2 separate regions of the Homo sapiens genome follow, and region 2 is linked to region 1. The links are contacts of gene promoters, found by promoter capture Hi-C in human tissues and cell types (Jung and others, 2019). All regions are on one chromosome and are shown on one strand. The core of a region is centred on a gene start or on the middle of the fragment in contact, and the rest is flanking DNA. Distances in the headings are between cores, read along the strand shown. Region 1 holds the start of SLIT3 (slit guidance ligand 3). Region 2 overlaps SLIT3 (slit guidance ligand 3).

The links. Contacts are between HindIII fragments. The study calls those that stand out against the background at their distance.
Region 2: a fragment that was not itself captured here is called in contact with the fragment with the promoter of SLIT3 in region 1 in 3 of the 25 tissues and cell types used here (liver, mesendoderm cells and thymus).

The regions. Positions count from the first base shown.
Region 1 is chr5:169,296,465-169,304,010 of GRCh38, forward strand. It overlaps SLIT3 (slit guidance ligand 3), which reads right to left and starts at 4,675. Exons shown (of 36, transcript NM_003062.4): 1 at 4,049-4,675. The coding sequence starts at 4,245. The HindIII fragment of the contact is 12,348 bases long and covers 1-7,546 here.
Region 2 is chr5:169,180,337-169,187,882 of GRCh38, forward strand. All of the region lies in intron 4 of SLIT3 (slit guidance ligand 3), which reads right to left. Among named protein-coding and RNA genes, the nearest start is that of MIR585, 80 kb to the right of the region's middle. The HindIII fragment of the contact is 5,564 bases long and covers 1,754-7,317 here.

The DNA.
Region 1 (7,546 bases), core at 3,425-5,924:
CCTTAGTCTGTCCAGGAGGGCACTGTGTTTCCCTAAAAGGCCACATCACCGTGGTTGACCCAGAGAGACCCCATGATTCACTAGCTTGTTCCTGTCCTCTAAGCTGGCCCTGAGGGCTGGACAGAGGACTTGGCTGTTGAGCATCTTGGAAAGTCTCTCACTTGACCTCAGGACCTCTGTGGTCAAGTGAGGGAAAGCCTATGACATGGTGTCAGTTTTTATTGGGCCCAACCACCGGCAAAGCTAGCCGTCATTTGGAGTGATGGAGAAAATTAAGTTACCACATTCTCACGTTTCAGCCTTTCGCCCGTTCTCCTTCGCAAACAGGAAATGTTTATTTAAATACAGCAGTCTCCAGCATGTTCCAGAGCCAAGTGAAAAACCAAAGATGTCCACTCTTGCCCCCACTCCACCGTTCAGGCCACCCCTCACTGCAGTGAGAAGTGGGCCTCTGCCTGCCTCTAGACAAGGACGGCAAGATGGGGAGAAGTGGCCCCGTGTGAGAGTTCATTTTCATCTGCCTCCTCTTTTTCCAGGCTGAGATTGTGGTTGGAGAAGAATTACATCTGTGGGCTCCTTTTGTAGTCAGAAGGGTAAGTGCAACATCTGTTTACTCTGTGCTCCATGGTAAATGTTTGGTTTCAGGCACCGCCATCCACTTCCTCTCCTCTCGTCCTCTATCTTTGCTGCACGGATAATAAATTACACTGAATTCTTCTCTGCATTTATTTAGCTTTCTTGTGGGTGTCACCTCCTCATGGAGGGGGAAAAATTGTCAGTAGTTTATAAAAGACAGAGTTTCTTTTTCTGCGTGATGTTCTGACATTATAGGGAAGATCTTGGAACACAGACCCCCCAATTCTGATTCTGGCTTAATTATGAACAATTGAGGCCCCATTCCAGGCCTGAAGCAAAGTCCAAATGGTGAGCACATTATCCCCACTCAGGTTTTCCTTAATGTCATAACACAAGGTTTCAGAAGTCAAAAACATCCAGAGAAGCAATATACACAGACACACACACACACAAATCCCTTCATCAAAGCCTTTTTGGGAGGCAGAGTACCAAGAATGGAGAACGGAGAAAATGCAGTTTCTTTGTTTTAAAACACAATTTAAACCTTTGAGATCAGAAAACTGGATTTTAGGAAGGTCCTGAGCATCTGATGACAGTGCTGACAAAACGTGCCCCATGGCAACATGAACCCTGGGAAGTTCAAAAGGCTCACCAAAGCAAGTTTCCTTCTATCTTTTGCTTACATTCTTTACATTGAAGTGCTGGTTTTCTTCTGTATTTGCAATGGTTCTATATACAGTTTCTGGAATGCAGTAGAGGTTCAAGTCATGTTTGTTCTCAAACTCCTAGGCTCAAGCGATCCTCTCACCTCAGCCTCCCAAAGTGCTGGGATAACAGGCATGAGCCACTGCGCCCGGCTTCAAGTAATGTTTGTTGAATGAATGAAGGCAGGAATAAATGAGTGATTCCTCTGAAGAAATCCTTGGCAGAGAGTAAAAATGCCAAATATCCCCCAAGAGTTTTCAGAATTGAAATGTTACATTTGAGTTGGCTGAGAGAGAGTGTGGTGCAGGACTTTGGTGGTGAAGGACTGTTGGTGGGTTGCCCTGAAACCCTGCAGTGAACCTGACCCAGCTTGCTCCTACAGACTGTCCCCCATTCCCAGGGAGGAAGGAGACTAGAATGAGATACCATCGCGGCACCCCCATGCACCCTGGCCAAAGTGGCACCAGTGACCACAACTGAGGCAGAAGAGACCAGAGACATCAAAGAAGCTCCTGCTCTGCCACTGCCTATTAACGACTGCAGCAGGGGGCCTCTGGGAATGACCAGGACTCCAGTCTCTGTCCTGTTTCTCCAGTTCTAGAGCTGATGGGTTGCCCTGAGCTGCACAGATCCCCTAAGGAAGATGACTCGGTGGCATGCTGGCATGGGTGCGGTTCCTGCAGCTCTGGAAAACTTCCTACACACCAGGAGGAGAGGGACTTACTCTTCTTGGTTTCCCAAACATGGAGCACGATTTTGAAGATGCGGAAGATGTAGTTGCGAGACCCCAAGCAGCAGACCTAACATCAAAGTGAGCTGAACATTTGCAGGGTATACCAGAAGCAGAAGCAACAGCAGCCTATTCTAAGATCCAAGCCCAGCCAGAACCCTCCCAAGACTGTCTGTTTATAGATCGTGGCCCAAACTGACCCTTGTTCCAAGGATGACCAGGAGAGTGATAACGGTTGTGGGCTTAGGAACCAGTCAGGCTTGGATCCAAACACTTCACTAGCTGCACGACCTTGAGTAAATGACAAGATGGCTTAACTGTGAAAGGGAGTAATAAGCATTGCCTATGTAACTAACAGGACTGTTGGAGTGATTCAATGAGATAATACATATACACAAATCAAGGCATGAAAAGCATTTATCAAACATTAGCTATAATTATTATTTCACTAACTCATGTGGCTAGCACTGGTGTGACGAGGAGGGGAACTTAGTTTACAAGTTATAGGTATCTAAAAATACCACTAAAACAAGTTTTTCACTCCTATGGACTAACTTAATGTCTGAATTAAGGTGTGAAAACCTGGATTCTAGCCCCTTTATTGCCGTCAACTTGCTGTGTTTTCTTGGGCAAGTCATTTTACACTTCCAAGCCTGGTTTTCGACATGTGTTAATAAAGATTCGGCTCTCACCCTTTAGGATTCTGTGGTTCAACCCAACAAAACAATCACTGCACTTGTGGAAAAACAAAAAAGTACTGAGCCAAAGGAAAAAGAGAGCACCAGGAATAAGGAAGACAGTTCTGCTGAGTCTCCACCCAGAGATGCACAAAGAAGTGGAAGAGAAGAGGAGGTGGGGTGATAGGAGGTGACTAGCAGGAATAACACACTCTAGGACAATGCTTGTCATCACTACTCTCTTCCAGCCTGAAGTCAAGAAAGCAGAGTGGAAGATCCAGGCGCCTACCCCTAAGGCACATGAGGAAGGGGAGAAGAGGGAGAGCAAGACACGGAGGGAATCTACCACACTAGAGCAAACCCTCACCCACTTCTCGGCTGGGTTCCCAGTAAGGCTTCCCACCCACTCCAGCGTTTCTCCCCCACTCCCTTACCCCACCCCAACTGCGGACTAAGAGGAGCCCACCCCGGAGTCCAAGTTTTGAATCTGGTCCGAGGATCAAAATGATAAATGTTTCCAAAACGTTGACATATGAAAAGTAAATATTTGGTTGCACAATTGGGGCTAAAACTAGGGTCAATCCACCCCATTCTCCAAGCGCCTCTCCATTCGCTGCCAAGCCCAGGATCTGAGGCTGAGTGCGGTTTGTAAGATTATAACGCTCGGTCTCATTTGAAGGGCTGTCAGCATTTCCATTCTCCGGCCCCTTCGTTCGGGGAGGCATTTATAACCGAGCCATAAAAAATTCACCCGGGGCTGCAACTTGGCATCTCCCAGACTGCGCTCCAGGCAGAGCGGGTTTTGCGAGCACCCACTCTGAATCTGTCCAGTTCCTCAGAAGTTAAACCTTCACCCACACTCTCAACTTTCCTTGCAAGGGCAGCCAGAGAGCGGCTGGCCCATTCTGATCTCCAAGCAGGTCAACAGTCTCGGGCCCTCTCTCCCGCCTCCGCGCCTTGACGGCCCATCATCCTATAGCTTTCTCCTTCGCCCGCCCCCCTTTTTAACGAGCGCAGACCCCTGACCCTCACCCTAAGACCTTGAGGCTGCAGTGCTCTTGCCTCCCCTCGCCTCTCCTCAGCTACTCCTTGGAAGCTGTCAGCGGGCCCTGCGTCTGGAACCCTCACCCCTGGAGAGGCACTGCTCTTTGCCCATCGCTGGGGGTTTCGAGACCTCTCTTTCCAGATCTGACCAAGCCTACAGACCCCCAGCTCGGAGAGTGAGGGATCGTATCCAGGAAGGGATGAGAATAGAGACTGCATCCAGGGAGGCCGAGGGGAAAGGACGGATCTGGCGCCTGGGGCCCCCTCGGTGGGACCCAGGTGGGTGGCCCGCGTGGGGTGGGGCAGGGGTACTCACAGGCGCTCAGCGTTGCGGGGGATGCCCCGAGGAACCGCGCGGAGGCCCAGCCCGTGGCAGTCCACGCTGGCAGCGGAGCAGGTACACTTGGTGGGGCAGGCGACGGCTGGAGGCCCACTCAGGACGCTCGCCAGCGCCAAGGCCAGCGCCAGGCGGGCGCGCACGGCGGCGCCGACCCCTGCCCACCCGGGGGCCATGGTGTGCAGGGCCCCGCTCCTGGAGGAGGCTGCCTCTGCGGGGCAAGACGCGTGGAGCCCGAGGAGGCGCGCGGGGAGCGCGGGCGGCCTGGGGAGCGGGCGGCGGAGTTAGCGCGGAGGAGGGGCGAGCTCGGTGCTCAGGCGCACGGGGCGCGGGCGGAGCGGGGCGCTCCGGGCGGCGGCGGCGGCAGCAACAGCAGCTCCATCGGCGGGGCCGGCGCTGCCCCGCTGCGCATCGCTGGGAGTGCCCAGGTGCGGAGCGCCCCCTGGCCCCGCTGGCCCGCGGGCCGGGTTGGGGACCTGGGGCGAGCGCAATGGGGCGTGGCGCCCGGGGAGGTCCGGCTTGGGGCTGGGCTGGGGAGCGCGGCGGCTGCGGCTGGGGCACGGGGCGGCCGGGTGAGCTGGCCGGCGCTCGCTCTCTCCATTCAGTGAGCACGGCAGACACCGGAGACGCGGGGCCCACCCCTCCGGCCCCCCCCCGACCAAGAAACGCCAACTCCGCCTCCCATTGGCTGCGCCGCGCGTCATGTCGACTAAGTTGGGAACTTTGCTGGAGCGACCGAGAGCCTGGAGGGAGGAGGCAGTAGAGGAGGGAGAGAGAAGGAACCAGGGAAGGAAAGGGGCTCGGCCAGCAGGGCCCCTGGAAAGAAACACTGAAACTCATTCACTGTTAAGATCCAAGGACGGATAAGGCTCCTGACACTTTTTTTTTTTTAATTTTTGCACTGAGCTGAGCACTCTACTCATATTCTTTACTTAAGTCCACGATCTTCCAAGGGGTCGTCTGAAAACAGCTCAGAGAAGTGAAGCGACTTGCTGGAGGTCGCACAGCTGCTAGGGACGCCAAACCATGGCAGTGTCGCCCACGAAGCCGCTTCCCTACCGCACCTAGTACTCATGGCAGAGATCCACAATTTTGCCTGAAGAGCCTTGGTTGACACCAATGTACTCCACAGCTACACACACACACACACCGTGGTCCATGTTGTTGAGGTCACTGCTGGCAAACCTTACCCGGAAACTTGCCCTGCTTTGCCCAGACCCAGCGCTTGGTGGACTGGTAAAAGTAGTGATGGCAGCGACTTGGACCCCTGGATTGACAATGCCTTGTTCCATCCTCGGGTTTCTGCTTCCTGACTGGGTGACTCTGGGCCAATCGTGTCATCTCTGAGCCTTCGTTTTCTCAAATCCGGGGCCACAGTCCTACCTGGCCTCACCTCCCTGGGTTGTTTGGAGCATCACAGAAGAGAACGTGTTTTTGCAAAAGTCATTCGCAGACGAGGCATCCCTTCTGTCCCCAGCGCCTTCTTTCTTCCAGCGCCCGCTTTAAATTGGCTAGGTCTGAGCTTTTCCAGATGCCAGTGGGGAGGGGCGTGTGCGTTAGAGGCTCCATAAATACTTGTAGGAATGATTTTGTTTGTTTGTTTGAAAGGAAAGGGCAGGAACTGGAGGAAGTATTGCCCAGATTTCCTTGAGGTCCCCTCACACTGAGAAGGCCTGAATGAGCCCTGCATATATATACACACACACTGGTGCCTACGTATTCACAGCCACGCACACACTCTCACATACTCAGGCTCACACACACCCATTTATACACCGGCAATCACACACACGTGTACATGCATGCTCGCACACACACTCACATAGTGACAACTATACTCCTGAGAGCGCTTCTCTTTTCTTTCATAAGAATACTATTCTGATTTCTTCTACCTCATTTTCCTTCAAGGAAACTTTCAACTACTTGACCACATCCTGTGAATATATAGTAGAGTTGTAGATTTTATTGTATTATACTTAGCAGATTTTCAAAGTCTTAGCTTTGGGCACCCACTTGCGCGCGCGTACACACAAACACACACATACGCACACTCACTCAAACACACACACTCGAGTCCCTTCATCATTCATAAACACATTAGGTGCAATTTACTGCTGTTATTCTTGGGAACGGCTTTCTGTACAGATGCTGTTGTTATCGCCCCCTGGTGGCTGGCGAGGGTCTATGCTCCGGTCTTCAGGGTGACTTCGGTATTTAAGAACTCTAAACATCCTTTTATCCCTTTGCTCTGAAGCTTTCCTCCAAACCTTGAACCAATTTAGTACCAGGACTGAGGCAGATGAGAGAACCGGGCAAGGGCCCAAGGGCACAAAGCGTCTCAGACTGTCTGGAGCAGAAAACAGTACGGTTTTCTTTGTTTTCCCAAATGCATGCTAGAGCATGTTTTGCAATCCCTTCGGGCTGGTCCTGGATCTGTGCTCTGAGCGCAGTGGGGGACTGCGTTTTCCATTTAAGCTGCTCAGGGGGGTTTCATGAGCCAGACTGTATCTTTAAGGGACTTTATAGGCATTCAAGTGTGACTTTTCCTGGGAGAAGCCCCTTAGAACAGATGGTGAGGATTTCCTTCAGAGTCAATCATCCCCAAGGAGGAGGCAAGTGGGAAATACAGGAGGGGCCCAGAACACCAGGATACACAGAATCATGGAGTGTTTGGGCTGGTACAGCCTTAGAAATCACCTAATCCAACATTTCTACAAGTGCCTTCTGATGACTACTGATTCCACATGTTTCATCATGGAGGAGAAAAAAGTCTCCTTGGGCAAAGACAGATTGAGAAATGCTACTCACCTTCACCCCTCTTGGAGAATTGCATCACAGATGAGTGTTTTTAAGTTCCTGAGAAGTCCTGCAGTAAGGAAACCTGTTTAAGGCTTATTTAACCCAGTTTCTCAGTATAGAGGACCACTTTTCATGTAAACTGCAAATTCTCTTGGAACATACTTTGAGAACCCAAATATAGTTCAACTCTTGTATTTTACGAACAAGGAAGCTGAGTTTCAGAGAAAGGCGGGCATTTATGTAGGGTCACCTAGCTAATTAGTGAAATAACCAGAGCCAGGACTCCGGGCTTCCAATGCTGAACATGTGGCTCTGTCCACTTCCTCAGCTGATTCTGGGGCATCTGCAGAAGGCGGTAGCCACCCCATGGAGCAATTACCCTCCTTGGAGAAGACTGGGTAAATCACTAGGAGGTCAGGCTATTGTTTAGAACTTTCTATGTCCAAGGGCCAGAGGTGGCTTTACACTCTGTGGTGTCATTTTTAGAGTTGCGTAAAAGTCCCTGGACACTTTTGAATTTTCCCCTTTACTTTTCCATAGGCTTTTCAAAAGCAAACTACTCGCCCATTCCTGCAGGAAACCCCATCTCAAACTTTCTCCTCAACCTGTGTTTCTCAAAAGCAAACTACTCACCCATTCCTGCAAGAAACCCCATCTCAAACTTTCTCGTCAACCTGT
Region 2 (7,546 bases), core at 3,286-5,785, 120 kb before region 1:
GATGATGTAGTGCAGGAGCTTAGGATGTCTTCTCAGGACTATGTAAAGTCATTGGAACTTTTAACTGGGGAAAAGAGGAGATCTGATTTCCCTTAAAACAATAATTGCGGCTGTTAGATTGACAATGAACAACACAGGAATAGGAGACACAGCAGGAAGATTACTGAGGTCCTTGAAATCCAGCCAGAAGGACTGCTGGTCCACGGTGATGGCAACAGAGACAAAAGGTGGTGAACATATTGGTAATGCATGGTGAAGACAGAGATGGCAAATTCTACCCAATATGCACATCACTCACATCAACAGCTCTCTACTCAGGGAGGAACTGGAGAACAGAATATTCCCTGAGCAACTCTGTCTTTCCCTGCTGCTTCTTTTTCTAGCCCCATTAGACCTAATGATCTCCCACCTTTCACTCTCATTTAAATAAAGGAAGTGTCACACATAAGGGAAAAGGATCTGCAGAGAATACCATTAGCAATGGAACCCCTAACAATTATTTCCTAAGATAATGTTGTTTGATGGCTACGCCCTTGAGAACTGGTGGTTGGCAATGGTCTGTTCTGAGTTCTAACATGAAATGAAAGTCCCTGAAGGTCTCAGTTGGAAGCCTGACCCATGCACATCTCTTCCAGGGAAAAGAGAGCTCTCCCTGGAGGCCAGAAAACATTTACAGTAATAATTTACTGTCTCTGACACAGATCTGCCACTATCATCTCTATGGACCAAAAACACCAATTATGAGCCAAGAAGTCAAAGAGCTTCCCCCAACCATCACTGCAGCTGCCTTTCTAATCCCTAATATCTCACCATAGCATTGCCCAATAATTTGAGCTAATTTAATAGTCAATGTCTTGCACTAAAGTGAAATTATATCTGTGAGTTAATTCAGCAGCCCAAAAAGGATCTTCATTTATCTGTCTGGGATTCTCCTATAGAGAGGTTTTGTGTGTGTGTGCGTGGTACGTTAGGTGTATGTGCCTGTGCTTTTAACAAAAAGGAGTCAGAGTGGGAGACAGATATAGGAAGAAGACTATTAGAGCAATATCAGTAAAACTGATGATTTTTCATTTCTCTCTAGATTGCTACCACTGGTTTTCATCTTTAAAAAATTATTAAAGTTGGCCGGGTGCAGTGGCTCACACCTGTAATCCCAACACTTTGGGAGGCTGAGGTGGGCGGATCACGAGGTCAAGAGATCGAGACCATCCTGGCCAACATGGTGAAACCCTGTCTCTACTAAAAATACAAAAAATTAGCTGGGTGTGGTGGCGCGTACCTGTAGTCCCAGCTACTCAGGAGGCTGAGGCAGGACAATCGCATGAACCTGGGAGGTGGAGGTTGCAGTGAGCCAAGATCGTGCCACTGCCACTCCAGCCTGGCGACAGAGCGAGACTTCATCTCAAAAAAAAAAAAAAATTATTGAAGTTAGATTTATCTGAGTATCTTGATCCACAATACAGTTTCACAAATCCCAAATTGAATGAGACTGAGATAGAAGAGATTAGTCATAGGTTATCCTTGTACTCTCTTGAAAATCCAGTTTTCTTCTTTAGACAGAGCATTTTGACCTCCAAAAGTCAAGATGTTCCCTTTATCTGGAGAAACGTTGGCATGATTCAACATATATTTCAATCAAAAGCTGACTCGTTGACTAAAAATTCAAGTCCAGAGCCCCAGACACGCCAACAAGAGGCCAAACCATCAGTTCAACAGCAGGATATTCCACTTGGCCAACCGTGGGGAGAGTTTTTGGCTACGCAACAGGCAGTGCTAATCAAGGGGCGGGCGGGCCACACTTCTAAGCAGGCTTCATCACCATAAGTAGGGTGAGGAGAATTAGAAAAGGAACGATGGGAAAAAAGAAACATCATGAATAAAACATCAGAATATTATTCTAAACCATGAATCAAAAACTCAGGTCCAGCTCACCAAATTTAGGCAAGGAGCATGAAATTGACTTAAACGTCTCCATTTCTATTTGGTTTGGACAGTGCTGTGTTATCATAGCTTTGCTGTTGTTAATATTGTATCAACACTTTCATTACAGACCTCAACCTCCTGGACTTTGTAAATGAACTGCAAACCTTACAAATGGAATTTAATGTTCAAATCCAAGATACTGAGTCCATAGGAAAGCCAGAAGAAAGACAAAGTTACAGATGTTTTTGGTGATTTGAAATTATGCTAGAATTTGGGGCATCAAATTAAAATACTATTTGTCCCCTGGAGGGATTCCCAAATGTTGGTTGAAAATGAGAGATAATTAGGCTCTTTAGAAATGTTTCTGTTGATGCTGAATGTGGTTCAGGAACAAATATTTCAAGATTATTGATGTGGGTACATTTGCATCTTTCAGACAACTGAAGAATGTGTGTTTGGGTTCTGCTCACCTCAAAAGGTTGTTATTTTTCTATATACAATGCAGTATTTCCCTAATATTTAATTCCATGGATAGTTTCTAACTCCAGATAAAGAGAATGAAGAATGGTATGGGTGAAGGCTGGCTTCTGGTTCTCGTTCTTAACAAAGAGATGACTATTTGAGTACCCTTGGTGATGCCACAAAACCCTGCCTAGGCTGGCCAACCCCACCACAGGTCACAGGGTGCTGAGAGCAGCACTGATTTTGTGCAGAAAGGGCTCAGCTGTCACAGTTTCAACTCCACAGGTGGGTCCCAGCCAAGGAAGTCTGAGAAAGAGCGAGGTGGCAAGAAGCCCACACTTATACCCTCCGGGCTCAGGTTAGACATTTCTGGGTTCTATACTCAGCATCCCAACCACCAGCACATTGGAGTGACACACACAGTAGGCGTTCAACAATACTTTAGTTGTCCCTGGACACATACTTCTCTTCCTAGAAAGGGGGCAGGAATGTTAACAACAGGGAATTGACTGAGTCCCAAGTATAAGCTGGGTGTTTGTTTTATTTTTCCATTTTCCTCACTCACTACTTTCATACGTAGTAAAGAGAGTACACTGATGTATGAAGGCTTTCAGCTGTATGTGCGAGGAGGTGAGCTTGTCTTGCCATCAGCTGTTCAATGTACCACCATGGCCAAGATTTAGGAGGTTTTTCTGAAGCCCTTACACATACAACCCTTTCTCCCTACATGCCTCCTTTCTTGCAGTGAGGGATTCAGTTGGTCCCACATTTCACCATTATCTCTAATGGTCCAGTGCTGTTCAACAAAGGTTGGTCTGATTTCCTTAAAGGATGGCTTTTCTCACTCTGGTCCATGACATGACTCTAGGATGACACAAACATCTTCAGAAAACCATCTTGGAAGGCCCACCAAGTAAACCAGCAAAAGCCCTTACCTTCAAACCAAAGAAAATACTAAATCCATGAAATCACTTAAGCCACCCTTCCAAAGAGAAGGAGATTCAAAATGTTTTATGCAGCAACCTATAAGAAACTCATTTTGTGGGATGTTTCACATTCCAGACCATGGTTTATTCCCCCATATATCCCTTCCAGTAATATCAACCAGATGTGGCAAAGAAGTCTGTGCAGAATTGTAAAAATTACAAGCATATTCTGTAATTCCAAAGCATTGTAAAGTCACAGCTTGGTTTTCTTTCCTTCTTAAAAAAAATTTAAAAACAATTTCCAAGCTGGCAGAATGTACTTCTCAGTACAAGTATTGCCCGATCACTTTAGAAAACTCTTCTGCTGGCCCACAGGGCTGAAGAGACTAAAATGTAAAACCCAACTCTACCTTTGATAAATTGTAGGGAATTTAGAAAGGTCTACTTGCTAGCATGTATTTAGGTCTATAAATCTTTTTCTTTCAATGTTTCAAGTATTAATATCCTAGATCTCAGATAAGAGCACGTGCTTATATATACTCATATGCGCTTATAAGTTCAAAATACTGAACCATGAAAGCTTCATAAATTTATGATTGTTATCCCTCTCCCATTCAAGATGTGTTTCTGCATAGAAAGCACATCATAAGGTAGGGAAAAAACTCACAGGAGTAAGAGGGTGAGAAAGTCAGAGAGACCTGGGTTCATTTCTGGTGAGTGAGTGAAACTCAAGCCCAGTTTCCTCATCAGTGTAGCAAGCATAAAAACACCTTTCATGCAGGATTCTTGGGAGGACTGAAGGAGTTGGCATCAACATAAGGTACCTAGCACACATTAGGTGCTCAAAAGATGTTTGGTTCCTTCCTTCAAAATATATAAAATAACAGGGGCTATATGAGATCGATGTTTCTTAAAGTATGCCCCTAAGTGACACACAACAAAATCACCTAGGGTGCCTATTTACAAAGTCAAATCCCCCGGTCCATTCCAAATCTAATGAACCAGACTTCCCGGCTGTGTGGCCTGGGATGCAGCATTTTAACCATCCTTTCAAGATATTTGTTTCTATATGCTAAGTTTGAAAACCAACCATAGCCTAGGTCCTTGCTCTGCTGTGGTGCTAGGCCAGCACAATCACTTCGGAATATGTTAGACATGCAGATTCTTAGGTCGTGTTCCAGACTTACACAATCAGAATCCACATTTTAACAAGATCCTTAGGTGTTCAGATACATACTAAAGTTTGAGAAGCACTGGTCTAGATTGCTATTCCTAGCTCAAAAATTCTGTAATGCAAGAATCTACAAGGCAATTTAAATGTTGGCTTTGTTATCAACTCTGTGGCAAGTCCGCAGGCTTCTATGCTCAGCTGGACACATCCTATCGGAGGAGAGAGACGACACCTCCCAGGCCTTCATCCCTGGCTCTGGCTTCAGGTACTACAGAGAGAATGACACAGCAACCACCATAATCCATTCTCTGTCCACACACAGATTAAAGCAAAACCTGTCTTCAAAAGCATCACAAACTCTGGAATTGATGACATGTGCCATAAAGCAAACACAAGGCTGGCCTCACTGCAGTGTTCAGCGTTTGGGGGAACAAGGAGAAAAATCAGGAAATCGGGACTCAGTTTGCAGGGACATTTTCCATGAGCTTTGGGTGGCTGTGTCCCTGAAAAAACGTGACCCCATGTATGAGATGGTGAGGCTGGTCTTGCCGTCCCCCGGCCTCTGAAATCCATGCCAGCGCACAAGGGAGCAGGTCTCCGCATCCAGCTTCAGGCAGGGGGGCAGCCTCTGAAGCCCCACACCAGCCTGATGGATTGGTTTTTCTGTTGTGCTATTATCATTTCACCACATCAGACAATAACTCCACTGGAAATTTGGGTAGTATGGTTTTTGTTTTCTCCACTGGTTTTTCACTTTTATAGCACTGTTTCACATCAATGCAGAGTTTTATAGGGACACATTTTGCTTGTAGTTATGTTTTAAAGTTTAGTGCCGAATTGGAAGACTAAGGTGACTGCAAAGGGCTCTGTGAGTAGCAGAAAGCACTACCTAGAGGTACAGGGCTCCAGTCATTCAACAACTCTGAGCTCTTTTAGGGCTTCATAGAGATAAGGGAGCTAGCATTTACTAAATTCCTAACTAGGCGCCTGGCACTTTAGTTAGTAACTTCTCCAAAGTACAGTACAGGAATCACGGTTAGGAATGTGGGCTCTGGTGTCAGGCAAGCTTGAGTTTCAACTTTGGCTCAGCCAGTTACTGGCTCTGTGACCTTGGGCAAGCTGTCTAAATCTCTAGGCCTCTGTTTCTGTATCTCTAAAATGGGGATAATATTGTATCTACCTCTGAAATCTGAGAGGAAGTGACAGAATATAGGTGAAGCACTTTGCAGAGGACCTGCCCCTAGTAAATTCACCACACACATTTGGGAACTGATTAAGGCTGAAATGCCCCTGACCCTCCCTCCCCGAAATGCTTATGTTGAAACCCTAATCCCAATACCTCAGAATATAACCATATTGGAGATCAGGTTGTTAAAGTGGCTATCAGGTTAAAATGAGGCCATTAGGGTGGATCCCTAATCCAACATAACTGGTGTCCCCATAAGAAGAGGAGGAGACACCAGGGTTATGCTACCACAGAGGCACAACCACGTGAGGAGGCAGCAGGGAAGGTGGCTATCTGCAAGCCAAGGAGAGAGGCACCAGGAGGAACTAATCCAGCCAGCATCTTGATCTTGGACTTCTATCCTCCAGAACTGTGAGAAAATATATTTCTGTAGTTTAAGCCACTCGGTGTGTGGTATTTTGTGATGGTAGCTGAGCAAGCTATTATAGGAGCTATGATTAGCATTCCTATTGTGTAGCTAACCAACACAAGACTGAAAAAGGTGAGGTCACTTGCCCAGGGTCACCAGAAGGTGGAATTCAAACCCAGGTCTGTCTGGTTCCCAAGTTTCTGATCCTTGCTCTAATATTGGACTGCCTCAAAGAAACATGAGATAATGGTTCTGAATGCAGCTCCCAATTTGTGTGGGCTTGGAGCATGTATACGCGACACCTGTGATAAAAGCAGAAAATGGTGAATATGAAGAGGCGGCGCAGACTAGCCAAGATGAGAGTTCAGAGGAGGACTCAGCCCTGGGAAGCAAGTTCCCTGGAAGCTGGAGTCTAGCAGCCTTGAACTTTTTGGTGGGGAATCTGCTCCACCATGATACCATGATAACAGCGCCAGTGACTTGGGGCTAAGTTGGTTGGCCACATTGCATATAGTTGTCGGGTGCCTGGGGATTAACTTTCCAAGTCACTTGCAACTCCACTGCCCAAGTGAATGACAGCAGGTTTAGCCTCAGTGGCATTTTTTTTTTTTAAAGCTGTCAAATACCTCGTATAACTGAATGGAGAATAAATAAGTCCTCCATCTGGCTGTGAGTACAACTGCTTATGCAGCTATAGGTTTTTTTTTTTTTTTTTTTTTGAGACGGAGTCTCACTTTGTCAGCAGGCTGGAGTGCAGTGGCATGATCTCAGCTTACTTCAACCTCTGCCTCCTGGGTTCAAGCGATTCTCCTGCCTCAGCCTCTGAGTAGCTGGGACTACATGCACGCACCACCACACCCTGCTAATTTTTGTGTTTTTAGTAGAGACAGGGTTTCACCATGTTGGCCAGGATGGTCTCTATCTCTTGACCTCGTCATCCGCCCACCTTGGCCTTCCAAAGTGCTGGGATTACAGGTGTGAGCCACCGCGGCCGGCAGCAGCTATAAGTTTTAAACCATTACCAAATATGGAACACACTATTTGAACCTGAATCTGGGATAGGTGGGCCAAAAGGAGCCCCTTGGTCTGCTCATCCTTATAGGGCAAGGATAAACTTTTTTTCTTTTCTTTTTCTTTCTTTCTTTCTTTTTTTTTTTTTTTGAGACAGTCTCGCTCTGCCATCCAAGCTAGAGTGCCGTGGCACAATCTCGGCTAACTGCCACCTCCACCTCCTGGGATCAGTGATTTTTGTGCCTCAGTCTCCGGAATAGCTGGGATGACAGGCATGCACCACCACGCCCAGCTAATTTTTGTATTTTTAGTAGAGACGGGGTTTCACCACATTGGCCAGGCTTGTCTCAAACTCCTGGCTTCAAGTGATCAGCCCGCCTCGGCTTCCCAAAGTGTTGGGATTACAGGCGTCAGCTACCGCTCCCAGCTGCAACGATAAATTCTTAAAAAAAAAAAAA